Linked DNA regions of Homo sapiens: regions 2, 3, 4, 5 and 6 are each linked to region 1. Evidence: promoter capture Hi-C in 16 types of primary human blood cells and fetal thymus (Javierre and others, 2016). All regions are on one chromosome and are shown on one strand. Each heading gives the region's core, a stretch centred on a gene start or on the middle of the fragment in contact. The rest is flanking DNA. Distances are from core to core; before and after follow the strand shown.

Region 1 (3,404 bases), core at 188-2,687:
GAATGCTTACTATGTACCTGGCATAATTTTAAGTTCCCTACATATATTAACTTACTTAATTCATGCCTTTGGCATCATCCCTCATGACTTTCTTTCTCTTGTATCCCATATCGAATTTGATTCTATTGGCTCTATCTTCAAAATAGAGCTGGAATCCTCTTACTTCTCACCAAATTCACCATGTTGATTCTAGGCTCCGCCATCTCTCTACTGGAACACTGTAACAGCTTCCTAATAGGTGGATTCTCAACACTGCAATCCTTTTAAAATTTTAAGTCACACCCTTCAAAAGTCTGCAATTACCTACAAGACCCTATATAATCCTTCCCCTCCATCACCTTAACCTGCTCTCCACTACTCTCTGCTTTGCTCAATCTGCTCCAGCAACACGGATCTGCCTTAATCTTCCACAAACACACAACGCACCTAGAGCCTTCGATTTTTTTTTCTTGTCTGGAGCACACCCCAATCATACACATAGCGAACTCTCCTTATTTAAATTGGCTCAACTCTCATCTTACCAATAAGGCCTACATAGACACGATTTAATTCTGCAATTTGCCTCTCCACCTCTCTCCTGACTCTCCCCCACCGCACCCCGCCCCTTTCCAATAGCACTTTTCACTCTTCAACAGACTATTTACCTTTAAGATATGTATTGTCTGTTCTCTCCATCCCCATTTAAGCTCTATGCCCGGAATGCCGGGTTTTTGTTTTATTTACGGTTGTATCCACAGAGTCTAAAACAGTGCCTGGTACACGAAAGGCACTCAATACATACTTGGCAAATAAACTTAGAAGCTAGATTTTCTTTCTGCAAGGCCATTGCTCTTTGGTGAAGAGCCTGGCCTGGCCTTGTCAAATACACAAGCTTGACCAAGAGCCAAAGCCACAGAGGGCCTAGAGGTGGGGGGGGCTAGCCCCAGATTTAAAAATTACCACAGCCCCTGGGGATCTGAGTTTCACATCTGGACACACAGGTTTGGAGGACAGAGGAGATGTAAGTTAAAAAGCAGAAGTGTACAGTTGTTTCTGTTCTGTGGGGTGAGGAAGGACAAATTTCTTCTGCGCTTGCACGTCCGCAACTGTGTCAATTTGCAGCAATTGGGACGCTAAATCCCCTCTTACCAAAACAAATCCTGCGCCACTGGGCTTGGGCTCTGCAACGCGGACCTTGCCCTTCCCCCGGCAGCTTCAGTGCCCTCACTTAGGTGGTTAGGCCGTGCCTAAACCTCATTCTTTCCTGGGCCGAGATGTCCCTGCCACAGGGTCAAGGTGCCAAGGTGCCGCACCCTCCGCGCTCAGGTGTCCCGCAGGCAGCCGCGGGGCTCGCAGCGCCGATCCGCGGACAGGCGGCGGAGCGAACACCCGGGCGAGGCCCCGCGGTGCGTCACGCGAGCTGCGGCGCGACCTCCTGGCTCCCGCCCGCGCTCGCCGCACGCACGCGCACTGCGCCCAGCATGAGGGTCGCGGCTCTGATCAGGTAATGCGGTCCTGGAGCCGCCTCCTTCCTCCTAGGCCAGGCTCTCGTCCCTTCCAGCCGCCGCTAGCGCCGAAAGAGTGGGTGTCTCCGTCTGAGTCGCGCGTTGGGGGTTCCGCGGCTCCTCCGAGCCACAGGAAGAGGCGGAGCCTTCGCTGTTGCCGGCCCGCATGTGCCTCGGCCCCTGGCTGGCGCGCCTCCTCCCTGTCTGTCGCTCTCTGGTCTTCTAGCCCTTAAACTTGGATTCCCATTGGATTCAAGTGGGAAATTAAAAAAAGTACCGACGCCTGGGCCCCACCGCCAGAGGGATTGGTTTAATTACTTCTGTGCGACCCGGCGTCTGATTTTTTTTTTTCAAGCTCTAATGAGCCGTGAAGTTTGGAGCCACTACCTTATTCCATCAACTCAGTTAATAACCCTCGCCCTTTCCCCCTCGCTTTCTTCGTCCTCTTCTGTAGTTCCTTTGGTCAGCTGGGTCCGCCGCAGCCTGGCTTCCTCCCTAGTTGTAAGTGTTTCCGCCCATCCCAAGAAGTCCACCCCTCCCTCATCTTCACAGATGTGGATTGCTTATGGCATGTGTGTGTTTCTGCCTTTGGGCACTCAAGTACAGAGATCTCTCTTCGTGGTAGAGACCGAATTGTACTAGTCTTATGCTAGATCCAGTTGCTGTTGCTTCGGACTCTCATCATTGCTTTAGAGTGACCTTACCCTATACTCCGTATTCCAAAAGGAGTTTGATGTCTGTAGTAACCAAATCATAAATTTAAGTGTCTAAATAAGTCCTGTGACTGACAAACCAAAAACAAACCTGCTTAAATATTTCCATACTCAATCTATAAACTGAGGCAGAAGGGAACACACTAGCAACATTAAAAAGTTAGACTACTTAAATACTTGTTTCATGAGATTTTGCCCTGTAGAGTGTCTTAGATACAGTGCAACGATGTGCTTGCTTTTGTAATCCAATTGAAGATTTCATAAACGTTTTCGTTAAGTCCCTTAGGTAATTGATACTGGCTGTAAGTTTTGACCTATTAAGGACTTGATATGAGATTTCAGACCTACTGTAGTGTCTGGAATATTCCGGTTCCCTTTCCTTCAATGTCATTTTTAGGAGACTAGACCATAATGTCACAATAATTATTGTTGTTCAGTAAATGTCCTCTGTAACATAAATGATTAAGCTTTAACCATTGTGTCTTATTTTAAGAATTAAAAGTACCCCAGGAAGTGAATAATTCAAATTTACATCGCTTGCCAAAAGTTTAACGATTAAAGTAAAGCACAACAAACAAAGACTTAGAAGTATTGGAGGGGAGGAGAGAAGATTGGTAGAGTCAGTTACACTAAATAACCTGTAATGTGCATATGTTGCTTTATAATAAAAAAAGTTTGCTAAAAAAGCAATGTTGGAAAATTCTTGCTGAAGCGTAAGAGCTGTAAGGACATATGCTGTAAGTATGAATACGTAAGCATTTACCTGTATGCTTATGATACAGATGCCTATGTATTCTATATATATGCATTATATATAATTATGTATTATAAGTGAATAAGTGAAACTGGGATTCTTACATATCTTTCTAAGAAGATTATTTTCCTTTTTTAAATTTTTTTTTTATTATACTTTAAGTTCTGGGTTACATGTGCAGAACGTGCAGTTTTTTTACATAGGTATACATGTGCCACGGTGGTTTGCTGCACCCATCAACCCATCACCTACATTAGGTATTTCTCCTAATGTTATCCCTCCCCTAACCCCCAAACCCCCACAGGCCCCAGTGTGTGATGTGCCCCTCCCTGTGTCCATATGCTCTCATAGAACATTATTTTTCTAATAAATAAATGAGTCTTTGAATTTTATAGTTGAATGTTATTTTGAGGATTATCCAGGCAGACCATTCATTAATTTGCAATGAAGTAT
Region 2 (3,287 bases), core at 529-3,028, 2.9 Mb before region 1:
AAATCCCAATGGTGCAAAAAATAATGAAGAGTATCACTGGAAATGGTAAATATGTAAGTGAAACTAGATATATATTGACTATTCAAAACAGTAATAGTAATGACTTCTGAAATGTAAAATATAGAGAGAATTCAGGGGGTGAGGTGCTGACAAAGAGTTTAAAAACAATAATGTTCTTCCATTATCCAGGCAGTGGTAAAATAATGAATTTATGGTAGCAAATCAAGATTGCATATTGCCATCATTTAGGTAATCACTAACAGAATTATGAAATAGTATATAACTAACAACTAAGAAAAGGGAGAAATGGAATAATGAAAAATACTTACTAAATCTAAAAGAAGGCAAAAATGGAAGATAAAATATCAAACCAAAACATGGCTGGGTAGCAATATTAATATTAGAAAAAATAGCTATTAACACAGAAGCATTATAATATTACAGAGAGATAAATAGGGACATTTCATAATGATAAAAGGGTCATGACGCAGAAAACCATAAGAATTCTAAATGTTTATTTGCTTAATAACCAGCCTCAGAGTATATAAATTTAAAAGCCAACAACTTAAAGGAGAAATAGACAAAGTCACAATCACATTAACTAATATAACAAGCAGTCAAAAAAAATCAGTAGGCATAAAATATTCCAAGTCAATAAGACTTGGAAAACATAATTTATAAATTTGACCTAATTGATATAGATAAATCTCTACCCCTCCCAAAACTTCAGAATATGCATTTTTCAAGTGCACATGTAATTTATAAAACTTAACCCTATAGTGGATCCTAAAGTAAGTCTCACCAAATTCAAAATTGAAATCATAAAGAGCATGTTCTCTGACTAAAGTGGATTTAAAATACGAATTAATTCCCGAGTATGAGATTGTCTAACAAAAAAAATAAGGAATTAAGAATTTAAAAAGAAAACTAAAAAATCCCTTAACTAATTGATGGGAATTCAAGCAATACACTTCTAAATAACCAGGCCTCAAACTAGAAATTATAATGGATATTAGAGAGTTTTGAACTGAGTGATAATAAAAACACAACATATCAACACATGCAGGATTCAACATATGTGGATTCATTCTTAGAGGAAAATATATAGCATTAGGTGTGAATATTAGAAATGAAAAAAGATTAAAAATTACTTAAGTATCAATCTTAAGAGGCTGAAAAACAAATGAAATCCAAAGAAGCAGAGAAATAAAAACAATAAAGAGTAGACACCAACGAAATAGGAAGAAAATGCAATAGAGAAAATTAAGCCAAAATCTGAGTCTGCAAAGGCTAATAAAATTGACAGATCTTTAGCAAGGCTGATCAAGGTGGGGGAAAAGAACAAACAACCAATATAAGAAATGAAAAATATCAGTACTATTTATCAGACATTAAATAGTTAAAAGAGAATGTTATGAACAACTTTAAATTTAAAAATTTAAAGGAAGTTGATAAATTTCTTGCAAAATACAATTTAACAAATATCAGAAAAAATTAAAATATGAATGGTTCAGTATCTATTAAAGAAACTTAATCACTAATTAAAATTCATCCACAAAGAAAACTCCAAGCCTAGATTGCTTTCCTGATGAATTCCTCCACATAAGTAGCACCATTCTTACACAAACTTTCCAAGAGACCAGGAAAACATGGAGCATTTTCAATGTTTTCTGTGAAGACAACCTAATCTTAAAACAAACACCAATGAGGACATTACTAAAAAGGGAATCTGTAGACTAATTTCCCTCATGAATATAGAGCTGCACTTTCAAAGTCACCTAAGTAATGACCAAGTTGCCATTTCAGTTCAGGCCTTTTCAACATACAGTGCTGGCAATGGGATATCCAGATCTTCCACTTCAACCTCATGCTATACACAAAAATTAACTCCTGATAATGGTAGATGTAAATTAAAAGAGAAAACAATAAAGTTTTTAGGAGATAACATAAACTGTCTTCATGAACTTGAGATAAGCAAAGATCTCTAAATATACTGGTTAGGGCTTTTGTGTCCTATTTCAGAAATCTTTGTGGCTGGGCATGGTGGCTCACGCCTATAATCCCAGCATTTTGGGAGGCCGAGGAGGGCAGATCATGAGGTCAGGAGATCGAGACCATCCTGGCCAACATGGTGAAACCCTGTCTCTACTAAAAATACAAAAATTAGCCATGTGTGGTGGCGCACACCTGTAGTCCCAGCTACTCAGGAGGCTGAGGCAGGAGAATTGCTTGAACCGAACCCTGAGAAGGAGGTTGCAGAGAGCTGAGGTTGTGCCACTGCACTCCAGCCTGGCGAGAGAGCGAGACTCCCTCTCAAAAGAAAAAAAGAAAAAAAAGAAAAGAAATCTTTGCATATTTTACAGAACATGATGATATTCTATATTATGTTGGCAACTTGGTCTTTATTAAATTAAGATCTGAAAAAGATTCCATTAAAAAAGCCAGAATGCAAGCTACACAAATGAGAGAAAATATTTGTGATACATGTATTTGACAAGGGACTCCTATTCAGATTATGTAAAGAAATCCTTCAAATCAATTAGACAAAGACAATTCACAACTAACTCAAAGTTGGGAGAAGAAAAGTGGAAAAAAGAGTTGAATAAACATTTCACAGAAGAGAATATTCAAACCACCGAAACCTACACGAGACAGTGCTCAATCTCATTGGCATTAGAGAAATGCAAATCCAAATAATCAAGACATATTACTACATACACAGAAAGAAAGGCTAAAATCCTCCCTCAAACAAACAAACAAACAAAACCTTGACAATATCAAAGATTGGCAAGAATGTTAACACTGGAACTCTTATACACTGTTTTTTAATTAATTAATTTAGTTTTTTTATTTCAATTTTTTTGGAATATCAGTGGTTTTTGGTTACATGGATAAGTTCTTTAGTGGTAAATTCTCAGATTTTAGTGCACACGTCACCCAGGCAGTGTATACTGTACCCAATATGTAGTCTTTTATGCCTCACCACCCTCCCAAACATAGTTTCCCCCACCACCACCAAAGTCCCACCACCGTGAGTCCCCAAAGTCCATTACATCACTCTTAGGCCTTTGTGTCCTCATAGCTTAGCTCCCTCTTAAAAGTGAGAACATACAATATTTGATTTTCCATTCCTGAGTTACTTCATTTAGAATAATGGCCTCCGGCTCCATCCAAGTTGCTACAAAAGACATTATTTCTTTCCTTTTTATGGCTGATTAGTATTTCATGGTGTATATATAGGATATTTTCTTTATCCACTCATTGGTTGATGGGCACTTATGTTGGTT
Region 3 (3,379 bases), core at 728-3,227, 2.5 Mb before region 1:
CTCCACCTCTTGGGTTCAAGCAATTCTTCTGCCTCAGCCTCCTAAGTAGCTGGGACTACAGGTGCGCGCCACCACACCCAGCTAATTTTTGTATTTTTAGTAGAAATGGGGTTTCACCATGTAGGCCAGGATGGTCTCGATCTCTTGACCTCGCGATCCACCCACCTCGGCCTCCCAAAGTGCTGGGATTACAGGCATGAGTTACTGGGCCCAGCCAAGATTCAGTTTTGGTTTAAAAAATTGCCCCATTGACATACAAATACCCCTGGAAAATTGACTATGAAATTAATAGATAGCTAATCAAATGACTCTCAAAGAGGTCACTCAAAGACTACATATCGAAATTGAGGATTCTTTCAAACTACATGCTTCATCCTCCTTAAAATTCTGAAACAGTCCCCCTTTTCTCCCCCTTTTCTCCCCCTTTTCTCCCCCTTTTCTCCTCCTTTTCCCCACTATTCCATGTGTCTTAGCTTCCAGGCATGCTGGTTTGGGACAAGATGGAGAACTACTGATGTAATCCTTGGTGTGATTTTTTGGAATTGCCTTCTTTAGTTACAGCTAAATAAGACTGAAATATTAAGACACTAAACATTTGGATGGGGAAGGGAGGAAGAAGGTATAATTTTGATGCTGGGTGCAGCAATTTTGAATAGTTTTGTTCTGTTTTTTTTTTTTTTAGATGGTGTCTCACTCTGTTGCCCAGGTTGGAGTGCAGAGGCATGATCTCAGCTCACTGCATCCTCTGCCTCACGAGTTTAAGCGATTCTCCCTTCTCAGACTGCCTGGTAGCTGGGATTACAGGCATATGCCACTATGCCCCGCTAATTTTTTATGTATTTTTTTTAGTAGAGATGGGCTTTCACCATGTTGGCCAGACTGGTCTTGAACTCCTGACCTCAAATGATCCGGCTGCTTGAATAGTTTTAAACATTCTTCATGGTAGGCAGTCATGGGAGGGTGCTGCAGAATTCCTGCTCCCTTCCAATGTCAATTTTGGGTACTCCAGGGCACAGACACGGAGTTCGGTTTCCAGCATAACACCTGGCAGTAAGAGGATGAGAAAGGCTTGGAAAGTGGAGATTAGAAAGACCTGAACACAAGTTTAAGGTACTTAACAATTATGCCTGGGGCTCTTCTTGCTTTTAGGTGAATGAAAAAGATGAGACTATTATAATGCTGACACAGATTTGTTTTGCTCTTGGATATTATTTTCCATCCTGGATGCTAACAGGGCATATTGATCTCTGTAGAGGGAACAAGCAGGACGCTTTTAGACAAATGGTTTTGATATTTGCTAATTGAATTCACCCGTGCAAACCATATTGGTTTTCTCAGTATCATCTTCCTGGATCTGGCCACACTGCTGCTGAATCAATGTGGGGAACTGTGGACCTGTTGGTGCAATGAATTTGAGAAGCTTCTGTGCTGCAGAGCTCCAAGGCTGGTCCTGGTAGACTGGTGCTACCCCAAGGATGTCCCATCTTGAATGCACGTATATTCTGGAGCAAGACTTCTAAGGAAGCTACAGAAAACAGTGAGCCTGAGAGAATCACAGAGTCAATGAACAAATGTTTAAACAGTCACTTAATGGCTACTAAACTGATAGAAACTAACAACCAGTTGTCTACAGTGTTTCCTAATTTGGGCTGATCAGATTCATCTGTGAAACTTAAAAAATACAAAAATATTAAAGGAAGGAATTCTTATGGTGACCAAAGTATAAAAGTTCATAAACATAAAAAGTTCGTCTCCTCTCTCCCACCCCCAAATATCTTGATCCCTAAATGTAACTATCAAAAAAACAAAGTTCCTTGGGAAATTTGCTGTTAATAAACAAAGCAGATAGACAGATACATATAGATAAAATGATATCATGCTCTTCATATTATTCTGCAACTTGTTTTTCACTTGAGCAATCAGAATATACAGATCTATTTTTATCTGGTGGTCTGAATTGAAGGACGCTCACATGGCTTTGACTGTCTTTTCCTGCTGGAGATGTGTGGGTGAGACAAAGGCATAGAAGCCACTGGTCCTCTAACTTTACCTGGAGGGCATGTTCAAGTGAGATTACTACTCACATCCTCCCCATTCCGCCCAAAGTTTCTGATTTTAGAAACCTGTCAATAGAGAATTTTAAATAAGACATATACCTTTTATTTTATACATGTTTCCAGGAAGGCATCACTGTGATGCATTATAAACAAGCTGAAACTGCAGTGGGCAGTTTTCCATGGTGGGATATGGAAACACATTCTCTGAAATGTGATTCTTCCTATATCTTCTCTTTCTTACAGTTGGTTCTAAGCAAGAACAGATCTACTGAATGGTGAGAAAATGGACAGGGAGTCTTCAAACTTCCTCCTTGTCTGTGCTCCCAACCTCTTTCTGTGTCCTTTTGCAATCCCTTCAGTAGTTTCTCCATGTGACTACATTTTACTGCTTTTGTCCTTCTTACCAGTCCTTCCTCTTGCTACCAAACTCTTCCTCCTCCTCACTTTAAGAAGGCACTCTTAAAAAGTTGAAGCTTCTAGTCCACCCAGAAACAAATTGAGATAAGCTTTTTGAGAGGCTGCTTTATAGGCTGTTTCAATTCAGAGAGATTAAACAGGATGACCTCACTGAAAAAGAAACCACACTTAATAGCTTTAAATGGGACTGCTCTTAGCTGGGTCACCCTGAACCACTGCATACACTTCTTGTTTCAAGTGAATGTGGTGGTTTGGGCCAGAGTGAGTTGTCCGTGAGATAGTTTAAATGCCTTTGCTTTCAGAAATGAGCCAACACCTTACAATGTAAGCAGAGGGAGGGAATATGTAGGTTTGTCTGATATTCAATCCCAAACCCTGAATCCTATTCCTGAGACATCTTGGGAAACTGGCATTCTCTTTCTCTGCTTCTCTCAATGAGAAATTTGTGGAATGCAAGTTCTTCAGAATAGAGACTCCATCCATGTCTCACCCACGTTTATCCTAAATTAGGGACTTCAGATGAACACAGTTTAAGGTAACAGCAAAGAGCATCTCCTTTAAATCAGAAAGACCAGATCTCCACTCCCAGCTTCACTATCAGGGCTGTTGTTGGGGTCAAATAATAAGTTCATACAAGAGCTTATCACAATACTTAGAACACAGTAAATATTTAACACATTTTAATTATTTGTTAGTTTTTATCTTGAAATGGAAGCTGCCTCTATCAACAGCCAACATAAAGAACTCTGGGCTCTGTCCCAAAATATGTGGCCCAAATTTTAACTAAATCAAGACTTCTAGAAAGCTTTTCCTAAATCTCTTTGACTTCGTGAGGGATACTAACTTTTAGTAGCTTGCTCTCTCAGTCTTCTAAAGGGGAAACAGATTTTGCCAACATTAGGAAG
Region 4 (3,212 bases), core at 262-2,761, 2.7 Mb before region 1:
CTAGGTAGCCCTGTGGGAAGGAAGCTAGTCACAATAGCTGGTTATCACAAGTGACTATCTGTATTATTGTCCTCAGCTTTAGGAATTAGCCACAACCATTTAATGACCTGTTCGAGGTAATTAATTATCAATAGGATCCATGGGCCAAAGAGGGAGGAACAAGAGAACAATTGCCAAGTAATTGCCAGTATAGGATATGATCCAAGTTAAGAAGGTACAAGTGGATTCTGAGTTCCATGTAGGTATCAGGCCAGGGTTTATTCACAAGGACAGCAAAAAGTAGGCTGTCCTCACTGAGACACTGGCAGATGGCATGCTATTTTCCTATTCAAAGTTTCTTTTCTTTTTTTCACATTGCTCAGCCCATAGTAATCATCTTTCTTATGAGTTCAGAATTGGTCTTCTCAGATTCTTTTATTTTTGCCTTTGCTGTTTATACTTGTGTTGATAATTATTATTTTTGCTGATTCATTTTTTATGAGTTTATATTTGTTTTCCCAATTAAATTTTAGTGACTTGAAGGTAGGGGCTGCCCTTTATATTTTTTGGCATCCTTTTTAGCAGTGGTCGTAAGTAATAGAGGCTTTTTAGGTAAAATACTATACCAGAGCCTTGACTATATATAAAAATGAAGCTATACTGACTGGCACTGGAGTTGAAATCAGGAATCCCCTCTGGCTTACTATTGGGACTTAATACTATTGCAGTTTAGCATTTCACATACACTGTGCCTTGCACCAGAAGCTCTCATCAGATATTTGTATTCTTGAGAAGCCAAAAGAGGAGACAGCCATGCCAACATATGAGGTTCTAAAAGTACATAAAATACAAGTGCATATTTCCATTTCTAAAATTACCCTTAACATTACTCCTTAGCAGATGTTATTAAAATTTTGTTTTTTAAAACTGTAGTTAATGTGTGCCTTGATCAATCGGAACTTCCTATTTTCATCATGTACTTTGTTTAATAAATGATTTTTTTTCTTTAGTTTAACCAGTCTCTTGGCTAATGAGCCCTGCCTCTCAGTGGAATTACTAAGTGGTAACCATGTTTCTAAATAGTTTCCTTGCCTCTGGCATGAGTCTGCTTCCCCATCACTAGGATTCCCATGTTCTTCCAAACTAATGCAAAGTATAAAGGATAAGTATGCTGTTTTCCTTTTTTCCCTAAGGACGGCAATTGTTGGTTTGGCAGTATCCGGTGAGTGTGTAATCAGTTTACTTTTAATGCTATAACTGCCTTTTACAGGAAGTTTCCACAAGATTAGGATGAGTACAAGGGAAATGAGCAGTCTGCAATTTCCTTTATTTTCTGTATAATCTTAGCAGGGAGGATGCTTACCAGACCCCACACTACTAAATAAAGCACTTACCATTATTCTCCCAAATGGCTTTAGCATGCTCATTCTTTAACGGTTATGTCCCACTACAACAAATATGAAGGACTGAAATACCCATCATAAAATAATCCAAGGCCACGTGCAACACAAATTTAGTATGACAAAAGATTCTAGGTTGGTTCCTTGGATTTTGCTTTAAATATGGCATTGCTTTCCCTTTTAATGAGTACTAATTAACCATGGTATAGGATTACAACAGGATTACATTTGAAATACACATTGCCCTTCAGGAACTTACCTTCCTAACACCCTTCCCCAGTAGGTATTATTATTAACTCCAGGTTACAAAGAGACTTGCAAACTGAAGATCAGAGAGGTCCCAGAGGTTACACAATAGTAAAGGCATGGCTAGAGCTCAACCCCGTTTCATCCCCTCCTTCAAAATTCTGTGTGTGTGGGTGTGTATGTGTGTATGTTTCAATATTATAATTTCTCAAAGATGGGATATTTGGTGGGATAGACTTTCAAGTCATTATTACTTTGGATAATGATTTAACAGGAGAGTCCTACTTTTAGATAACGAAAGAATTAAATTCCTTGGCTATTATCAGCTGCCTTTTGTGGGCCTCAGGTACGTAAGTTCCTTTATACCATCAGTTCTTAGAGTAGGGTCTGGGGACATCTGGAGTCTCTTTTGTAAATTGGTTTCTAAATCTAGAGCCTTGATAGGAGGACTACTTCAATCAGAAGGCAAATAACATCTGGTTGTCTTTGGGTGATGCTAGCAGATATCGATGATCATGGTAACCACTAGCCATATGTGGCTGTTTATTCCTCAGGTATACTAGCCATGTTTCAAGTGCTCAATAGCCACAAGTGGTTAGTCGCTATCATATTGAACAATCTAGATATAAAACATTTCTGTCATCACGGGTTGTTTTCTTAGACACATGAATGTGCAAATGTGTTGCTGTAAATAACAAAAGTAGTTATCTTGTTATTAAAGTAGACATGTAACAAGGATTATGCTCTCAAATACATTATTAGTGTGAACTGGGGCACTGTAGATCATCTCTTCATTGCCATTAACTAAGGGTAAAAGGGAGGATAATTTCATAATTATCTTTGATGTATAAGTCTTTGATAAACCTACAGAACATATCTATACTGGGAAGCATAAATTCATTGACTGGTTTATTTTGTTAAAAAATGGTTTTTGTTTGTTTAGTTTGGGTTTTTTTTTTTTCTTCCTCTGTTGCCCAGGCTGGAGTGCAGTGGCACAATCTCAGCTCATTGCAATCTCCACTTCCCAGAGTCAAGCAATCCTCCCACCTCAGCCTCCAAGTAGGTGGGACTACAGGCACCCATCACCATGCCCAGCTAATTTTTGTATTTTGTAGAGAGGGGGTTTCGCCATGTTGCCCAGACTGGCCTCAAACTCCTGAGCTCAAGCAATCCATCTGTCTCGGCCTCCCAAAGTGCTGGGATTACAGGCGTCAGCCACCACACCCCGCATATAAAAATGTTTTGGCCAGGCGCTGTGGCTCACGCCTGTAATCCCAGCACTTTGGGAGGCAAGGCAGGCGGATCACGAGGTCAGGAGATCGAGACCATCCCGGTTAACATGGTGAAACTCTGTCTCTACTAAAAACACAAAAAATTGGCCGGGCATGGTGGCGGGTGCCTGTAGACCCAGCCACTCGGGAGGCTGAAGCAGGAGAATGGCGTGAACCCAGTAGGTGGAAATTGCAGTGAGCCAAGATCGCACCACTGCACTCCAGCCTGGGCAACAGAGTGAGACTCCGTCACACACAAAAAAATGTTTTAAGTGTTCATGTTTAATATTGCATATCCTTGCCACTCAAAGCTGCA
Region 5 (3,713 bases), core at 1,127-3,626, 2.9 Mb before region 1:
ATAGTCTTGTTTTAAACAGACTCTTCACTACGGTAGGTAAGACTTTGTTTTTGGCTGGGAGTGGTGGCTCACACCTATAATCCCAGCACTTTGGGAAGCTGAAGCAGGCAGATTACCCGAGGTCAGAAGCTTAAGACCAGCTTGGCCAACATGGTGAAACCCCGACTCTACTAAAAGTACAAAAATTAGCCAGGCATGGCAGCATGCGCCTGTAGTCCCAGCTACTAGGGAGGCTGAGGCAGGAGAATTGCTTGAACCCAGAGGCGAAGGTTGCACTGAATCGAGATCGTGCCATTGCACTCCAGCCTGGGTGACAGATCAAGATTCCATCTCAAAAAATACATAAATAAATACTTTGTTTTTATTTGTTTAGTTAAAATTAGACACAAACGCCACAATTTAATATAGCAGTTTTAACTTCAGCTGAGCAAAAATACATCTGAAAAACAATTTAAAAGTACAGGTGCCAGGGTCCCATCCTCTGAGATTCTGAACAGTAGATCTACAAGTAGGAGTTGGGCATCTGTGTGTGGTTTGTTTTAGACCCAGTATGATTGCCAAGGTCAGGCAAGATTGAGGGTCACTGGTTTAAAGACTTTTCCATGCAGTCTACACATGACAGTTTAAAGAGTCAAGTACCAAAATATTAAGATCAATTATTAAACTTTAAGACCAATATTAAACTTTCCTTATGAGGACTATACTAAGGTCCTTCTGACTTAAAAACTTCATTAAGACCAGCTATGGTGGCTCAGGCCTGTAATCCCAGTATTTTGGGAGGCTAAGGTAGGAGGACAGCTTGGGCCCAGGAGTTTAAGACCTACCTGGGCAACACAGACCCATCTTTACAAAATATTTTTTAAAAATTTGCTAGGCATGGTGGTGTACGCCTGTAGTCCCAGTTATGCAGGCTGAGATGAGAGGATCGCTTGAGCTCCAGAGTTTGAGGGGCTACAATCGCACCATCACACTCCAGCCTGGGCAACACAGTGAGACCCCATCTCATAATAAAAACTTGATTAAACTTGATTAAAACAGATTGCCAGTTTTTCAAAAATTTATATTTTAGACAGAACCTTGGCTGAAGTCTACTTTTGCTCTATGGAAACATGCTTTCTCCATGTAATAGTACAAACAAGGGTTTAGCATTTACGATGCTAATCCATGCAGATAGTAAGCAGTAGAGGGAAAATTAAGCCTTCTTCCTTTTGCAGATCCTTAGATTCCCCCTTCCCAGAGGCAATCACCATTAATTTCTTGGGTATCCTTTTAGGCATGTGTGTGTGTATGTATTCAAGATACCTAGTAGCCATCTGTGTGCGTTTGTTCCTTTTATACAAACAAGAACATGCTATACATGTCCTGTATATTTATTTTGTATTTACCAACATATCTTAGAGATCATTCCACATCAGCACATTTGATTTATCTGCATTCTTCCTATTACCTATCTAGTGACATCACTGCATTAATGTACCACTTCTATTTATCTATATTTATGGACACTCAGGTTTCTGGTCTTTTTATTACTACAATGTCATAATGAACATGGTTTTCATTTATCTTTGTACACTTGGGGAAATAGATATATATTCATAGACAAACAATTGCCAAGTCAAAAGAATTGCCAAGTCCAAAAGCCAAGTGAATTTTAATGTGACATTGAAAATGTGTCCTCCTAAGAGGCTGTACAAGTTATTCTCCCACCACAGTCTAATGTCTGTAGTATACGAAAAGGCTTACTCCCCCAAACTTCTATTATGATTTTTTGAGTGAAAAATGGTATCCTGTCATAAGTGATATTGTGCATCTTGTCATGCTTAGAAGCAGTTAAAAAAAAATTTTCTGTAGAATGCGTGTTCATGTCTTATGTATTTTACACATTTTCCCAGTGGATTTTTATCTTTTTCCTGTTGATTTATAAAAGCTCTTTACATAGTACAGGATTTGGCCCTTTTAATTTTATACATGTTGCAAACACTTTCAAAAAGAACATGAAGAAGCTTATTATATCAATATGATTAAAACAGTCAAACTGAAGAAAGACTAGATGCTGGTAAGACTGTGAACTAGTATAACCTTTCTGGAGCAAAATATGGCAATATACATCTAGACCGGAGACTATTTTAAATGTTCCTAATCTTTGTCTAAGTAAGCAAAAATATAAACAAGGAAATCATTTTAAAATAGAAAAAAATCCAAATACCTCCAAATTTGAAATCTATTACACATAATGTTATGTCAATAGCAGAGCCAATTTAGTTTTTCAAAAAACAAGTGATAGGGAAATAAAGAGAAAAACGACACATCAAATGAAGAGGAGGAGGAGAAGGATCTGAAACAGGATCTTAATCTTATTTAAGAGTGAGTGCGAGTGTGAGAGTGTTGTGTGTATGTACACAGAAAACAGAGACACAATATTCTCTCTAGGGAGTGAGATTATAAATGCTTTTCTTCTTTATGTTTTATGTATTTTCTAAGATTTCTATGATAAGCATGTAATTTTTGCACATATAAAATTTACCATTTTAATCATTTTTAAGTATACAGTTCTATGACGTCACCATCCATCTTCAGAACTTTTTCGTCTTCCTCACTGAAACTCTGTACCCATTAAACACTAACTCCTCATCACCGCCCTCCTGAACATGTTATTTTTATAATCAGAAAAAAACTATATATTTCTGTTAAATTTCTTTTTTATTCCTACTTGTACCAGAAACCTGTATCACTACAATTGCTAAGCTTCTTAGCAGCTAAGGAGAAAGGGAACCATGATGGATTACATAATTCTCATTGACTGATATTAAGGATATGCAAGTTCCTCTAGCCGGTGTTTCCTAGGTTCCTTTCTGTCCCAATATACCTAAGAGTTACTGTGATCTCCCAATAACAGTGGTTCATTAAATCAGTGACTCACACCAAATGGGAGGAAGATGGAGAATGGTGTATTGGGATGGAGAGAGAGGGCATATAATTTTTATCCCCACTCAACACACACAAGGTAATTTCAATGCCAATACTTTTGTCACCACTAAACACACACACACACACACACACACACACACACACACAAATTTCATCTCTAATGAAACAAACTTTATTAAAACACTAGCGCCTAGGAGGAATATGTCACGTGTAATCTTTTTATAAATGGCATGATCTGAAATAGAAATCTTCAATAATAGAAGGTATTAGAAAAATTCTTTCAAATAGTCATTGTTTGTAGAACTTTAAAAACATTATAAAATTAGCCTAAAGTAAAAAAATGATGAAAGGAACCCAACACAAACATGGACCTACTATTTATGGTAATTGTTTGAATACAGTATGACCTATATTCCAAATCCCTCCCTGATGAAACTGGCCACATTTAAAGTGTCCTAAAGGCACAAATTTTATATTTTTTAAAAAAAAACAAAACAAGCAACCCTCATATATCCCTAGTATCCAGAGCAGTTCTTGGTGTTAGAGTAAGTGATCAACAAATTATCATCCAGTGCCTAGTTTCAGAGAGTTTTTAGATTAAATAGGACTTTGGAGATCATCAATGTTAGCCATATAGTCACGAACAATAACAGATAGAATGAGATAAAGGAAAAATTACTAAAGTACTATATAAATCACAAACACAGGACATTCTATATTGGCCAAATAAATCACAAGTGTTAGAAGGCATACTGGTAAAATTTATACTATATTATATAAACATT
Region 6 (3,472 bases), core at 55-2,554, 2.7 Mb before region 1:
CCTGAGGCCTCCCTGCCAAGCTTCCTGTATAGCCTACAGAACTGTGAGTTAATTAAACCTCTTTTCTTAATAATTACCCATCTCAGATGGTTCTTTATAGCAGTGAGAACAGACTAATATAAATGCCATGTCTGTGAAACAACTAAAATTATCTTACATACCAGTGGCAAATTCCACATTTTGGAAAAAGCTATGCTACCTCAAGTTACCTCTCCATGAAAAAACAATTAGAAACTTTCTTCAGCAGAGTGAATGGAGAACATGTCATAGTTTTCAAAAAAGGTGTTGGGCTTGAAGGAATAGAAATGTTCCAGATTTGGGCTGGGCATGGTGGCTCATGCCTGTAATCCCAGTACTTTGGGAGGCCGAGGCAGGCAGATCACCTGAGGTCGGGAGTTCATGACAGCGTGGCCAACATGGTTGAAACCCCGTCTCTATTAAAAATACAAAATTAGCCGGGCATGGTGGCACACGTCTTTAATCCCAGCTACTCGGGAGGCTGAGGCAGGAGAATCACTTGAACCTGGGAGGCAGGGGTTGCAGTGGTCTAAGATCGTGCCACTGCACTCCAGCCTGGGAGACAGAGCAAGACTCTGTCTCAAAAAAAAAAAAAAAAAAAAGAAAGAAAGAAATGCTCCAGATTTGTGCCATCCAATACAGCAGTCAACACTGGCCACTTGTGGCTATATAAATTAAATAAAATTTAAAATTTAACTCCTCAGTCACTCAAACCACTTCAAGTACAGCCAAATAACTATATAGTAGCTACCATAGTGGATACCACAAACAGAATGTTTCCATCATCACAGAATGTTCTATTGTACTCACTGCTTTAGATTCTCAAAGAATTCTAATAAAGCCCAACTGGCAGCAAATGGAAGTAAAAATTTTAGCAGATAACAAAGGTAGTATCTTTCAGTAAAGTAACAAACATTTGGAAAAAACAGTGAGAGACAATGAATTAAATGCTAGTAGTAAGGGCCAGGCATGGTGGCTCACACCTGTGATCTCAGCACTCTGGGAGGCTGAAGTGGGAGGACCACTTGAGCTCAGGAGTTGAGACCAGCCCGGCTGGCCAACAAAATCAAGACCCTGTCTCTACAAAAAAATTTAAAAATTACTGGGCATGGCGGCAGGCACCTGTAGTCCAAGCTACTCAGGAGGCTGAGACAGATTAATCACTTGAGCCTGACAGTTCGAGGTTAGCGTGCTGTGATTGTGCCACTGCACTCCAGCCTGTGTAACAAAGTGAGAGACACTGTCTCTTAAAAAAAAGTTAGTACTGGCTGGGTGCGGTGGCTCACGCCTGGAATCCCAGCACTTTGGGAGGCTGAGGCGGGCAGATCACAAGGTTAGGAGATCCAGACCACCCTGGCTAACACACGGTGAAACCCCGTCTCTACTAAAAATACCAAAAAAATTAGCCAGACATGGTGGTGGGCACCTTAGTCCCAGCTACTCAGGAGGCTGAGGCAGGGGAATAGCGTGAACCCGGGAAGCGGGGCTTGCAGTAGCCGAGATCGCGCCACTGCACTCCAGCCTAGGCGACGGAGCGGGACTCTGTCTCAAAAAAAAAAAAAAAAAAGAAAAAAGTTAGTACTATAAATATGATTTCTGTTTCTACAACTCCTTTATAATCTGATGATTTCAAAGACTGAAAATGTACTGAGGTAGATAGGAATCCCTCTCCAACTAAGATGATATGGTTACTATTAAGGAATGAACAGTAAAAACTTAGAAAACAAGGTTAAGAGACTGAAGCCATACACTTTTAACACAACCTGTGAAAAATCTTTTAATTACCTTACTTTCATTAACATAAAGCAATAAGGAAAGTATGCTCAAATAACACAGTATTAACAATATCTTTTTAAATGATGGGTCCTGTATGATGATTTATCATTTACTATACCCTGGTCACTTTTAAATGTTTAGGCTATTCCCCCACCCCCTACATGGTCTCAACATCCTTGTGAATTTGTTTGGGAATGACTGGTAGTCACAAGGGTAAGTGTATCACGCACACACATAACTTTTCACAAAACAACTTAGACTTACTGTGACAACACACAGGCTGACTTTGGTATTCTATTCCATTCTACATGGAAACATAATGCTGATGGAGACCCATTGCCATTGAAAAATTCCCTGTTCTAAACTACTGTGAAGTATTTGGGATGTTGTTCTCCTCTAAGGATGTACCTCCGTGTTGGTAGTGAAGATTCACATTTATGTTCAGCTTATTTCATGAAAATAAGAGATAATACTAAAAGGCATAGGATACTCACAAGAGTGGGTTTCAAGGCTGAGCTGTGAGGGACTGCAGAAGAATTCAGAATTGAATTGCTGTAGCTAGAGTAGAGACAGCAAATGTTATTACATCATTGCTTTTTCAGATGTCTTCACTGAAGTGCTCCAAATGATATAGCAATGTATTGCAAATTAATCTTTTATAAGTATATAATTATTTGTAAATCCAGTAAACTAACTCAGAGTTATGTGAACACTGAATTCTAATCACTAGGACAGTTGTTTTCCCAATATGAAATGTTTTTAATTATGTGTATTAGGAAAAGATGGAAAGCTTTTTAAACACTAAATCTTTTCATATGTATATCCTATGGGCATACGTGCGTGTATGTACACTGCTGATGTCAAAGTGTCAAAATGCAGAATGTGTTTGTTACTGTGATGCAGTCAAAAAGTCTGAAAGCCATTGTTTTAGGGCATAGGCTTTGGAATCATAAGACTTTACCAAGTATGTAATCTTTGCCAAGTCATTTAACTTTCCTGCACCTCAGTTTCCTTGGCTTTGTAAATGGGAGTAGTAACATTATAACAAACACTTACATGGTTATTATAAAGACTAAATGCATGAAATGATTTTAGGCCAATGCTGTTACTTACTCATATATGAGCTGTCATTTAATTATGTACTGAGAGCTACATAAAACCACAAGGTACCAAAGAACAAAAAAGGAATCTAAGAAATTTAAGAACAAATTTCATTACAAATAATCCACGATAGAAAAAAATGTGAATTTTCAGAAGTGGCAGTTCATATTAAGAATTTTAAAAAACCACTTGTACTCTTTGACACACTTATCCCACTCCTGTAAATTTATCTTAAGAAATTTTACTAAAGAGAAGAAAATATTTATATGCAAAAAGATGCTCCTTAAAAATGTTATTTGTAATAGCAAAGAGCTGGAAACCTAAAGTGTTCTTTAAAGAGATAACAAGTAGGTAAACTTTTGGTAAAACAATGTGAAATATTACAGTACTAAAATGATTATTTAAAAACTAGATATACGCCTAAGTCTTTATATTAAGTATATCAGGTGATATACTTAATCAGGTAAATAATATGTGTATGTACACAAGCAAAAATGTGTATGGAACTAGATGCAGTTGAAAGCTGTGCTGGGTTTTTAGTTGATTTCTTTTGATGTAATTATTGCTCATTGTTTTC

The links. The method cuts DNA at HindIII sites, captures the fragments that hold promoters and counts their contacts. A CHiCAGO score of 5 or more calls a contact.
Region 2: a contact is called between a fragment that was not itself captured here and the fragment with the promoter of DPH6 in region 1, in 5 of 17 cell types (naive CD8 T cells, total CD8 T cells, total CD4 T cells and 2 more). The highest score is 8.0, in naive CD8 T cells.
Region 3: a contact is called between a fragment that was not itself captured here and the fragment with the promoter of DPH6 in region 1, in 1 of 17 cell types (total B cells). The highest score is 7.8, in total B cells.
Region 4: a contact is called between a fragment that was not itself captured here and the fragment with the promoter of DPH6 in region 1, in 9 of 17 cell types (total CD8 T cells, naive CD4 T cells, total B cells and 6 more). The highest score is 10.4, in total CD8 T cells.
Region 5: a contact is called between a fragment that was not itself captured here and the fragment with the promoter of DPH6 in region 1, in 2 of 17 cell types (naive CD8 T cells and total B cells). The highest score is 8.0, in naive CD8 T cells.
Region 6: a contact is called between a fragment that was not itself captured here and the fragment with the promoter of DPH6 in region 1, in 6 of 17 cell types (total CD8 T cells, naive B cells, total B cells and 3 more). The highest score is 10.4, in total CD8 T cells.

What each region holds. Positions count from the first base shown.
Region 1 is chr15:35,544,198-35,547,601 of GRCh38, reverse strand. It overlaps DPH6 (diphthamine biosynthesis 6), which reads left to right and starts at 1,437. Exons shown (of 9, transcript NM_080650.4): 1 at 1,437-1,483. The coding sequence starts at 1,461. DPH6-DT (DPH6 divergent transcript) reads right to left here and starts at 1,407. Exons shown (of 3, transcript NR_038251.1): 1 at 1,129-1,407. RefSeq lists silencers at 965-1,014, 1,315-1,454 and an enhancer at 1,502-2,436. The HindIII fragment of the contact is 1,793 bases long and covers 874-2,666 here.
Region 2 is chr15:38,447,979-38,451,265 of GRCh38, reverse strand. No RefSeq gene overlaps it. Among named protein-coding and RNA genes, the nearest start is that of FAM98B, 4.5 kb to the left of the region's middle. The HindIII fragment of the contact is 4,148 bases long and covers 1-3,287 here.
Region 3 is chr15:38,085,404-38,088,782 of GRCh38, reverse strand. No RefSeq gene overlaps it. Among named protein-coding and RNA genes, the nearest start is that of LINC01852, 14 kb to the right of the region's middle. RefSeq lists a silencer at 2,709-2,768. The HindIII fragment of the contact is 1,110 bases long and covers 1,423-2,532 here.
Region 4 is chr15:38,245,545-38,248,756 of GRCh38, reverse strand. No RefSeq gene overlaps it. Among named protein-coding and RNA genes, the nearest start is that of SPRED1, 5.7 kb to the left of the region's middle. The HindIII fragment of the contact is 3,413 bases long and covers 1-3,212 here.
Region 5 is chr15:38,465,545-38,469,257 of GRCh38, reverse strand. All of the region lies in intron 3 of FAM98B (family with sequence similarity 98 member B), which reads right to left. Among named protein-coding and RNA genes, the nearest start is that of FAM98B, 13 kb to the right of the region's middle. The HindIII fragment of the contact is 742 bases long and covers 2,006-2,747 here.
Region 6 is chr15:38,267,054-38,270,525 of GRCh38, reverse strand. The region is part of intron 1 of SPRED1 (sprouty related EVH1 domain containing 1); the gene reads right to left. Among named protein-coding and RNA genes, the nearest start is that of SPRED1, 16 kb to the right of the region's middle. The HindIII fragment of the contact is 2,564 bases long and covers 23-2,586 here.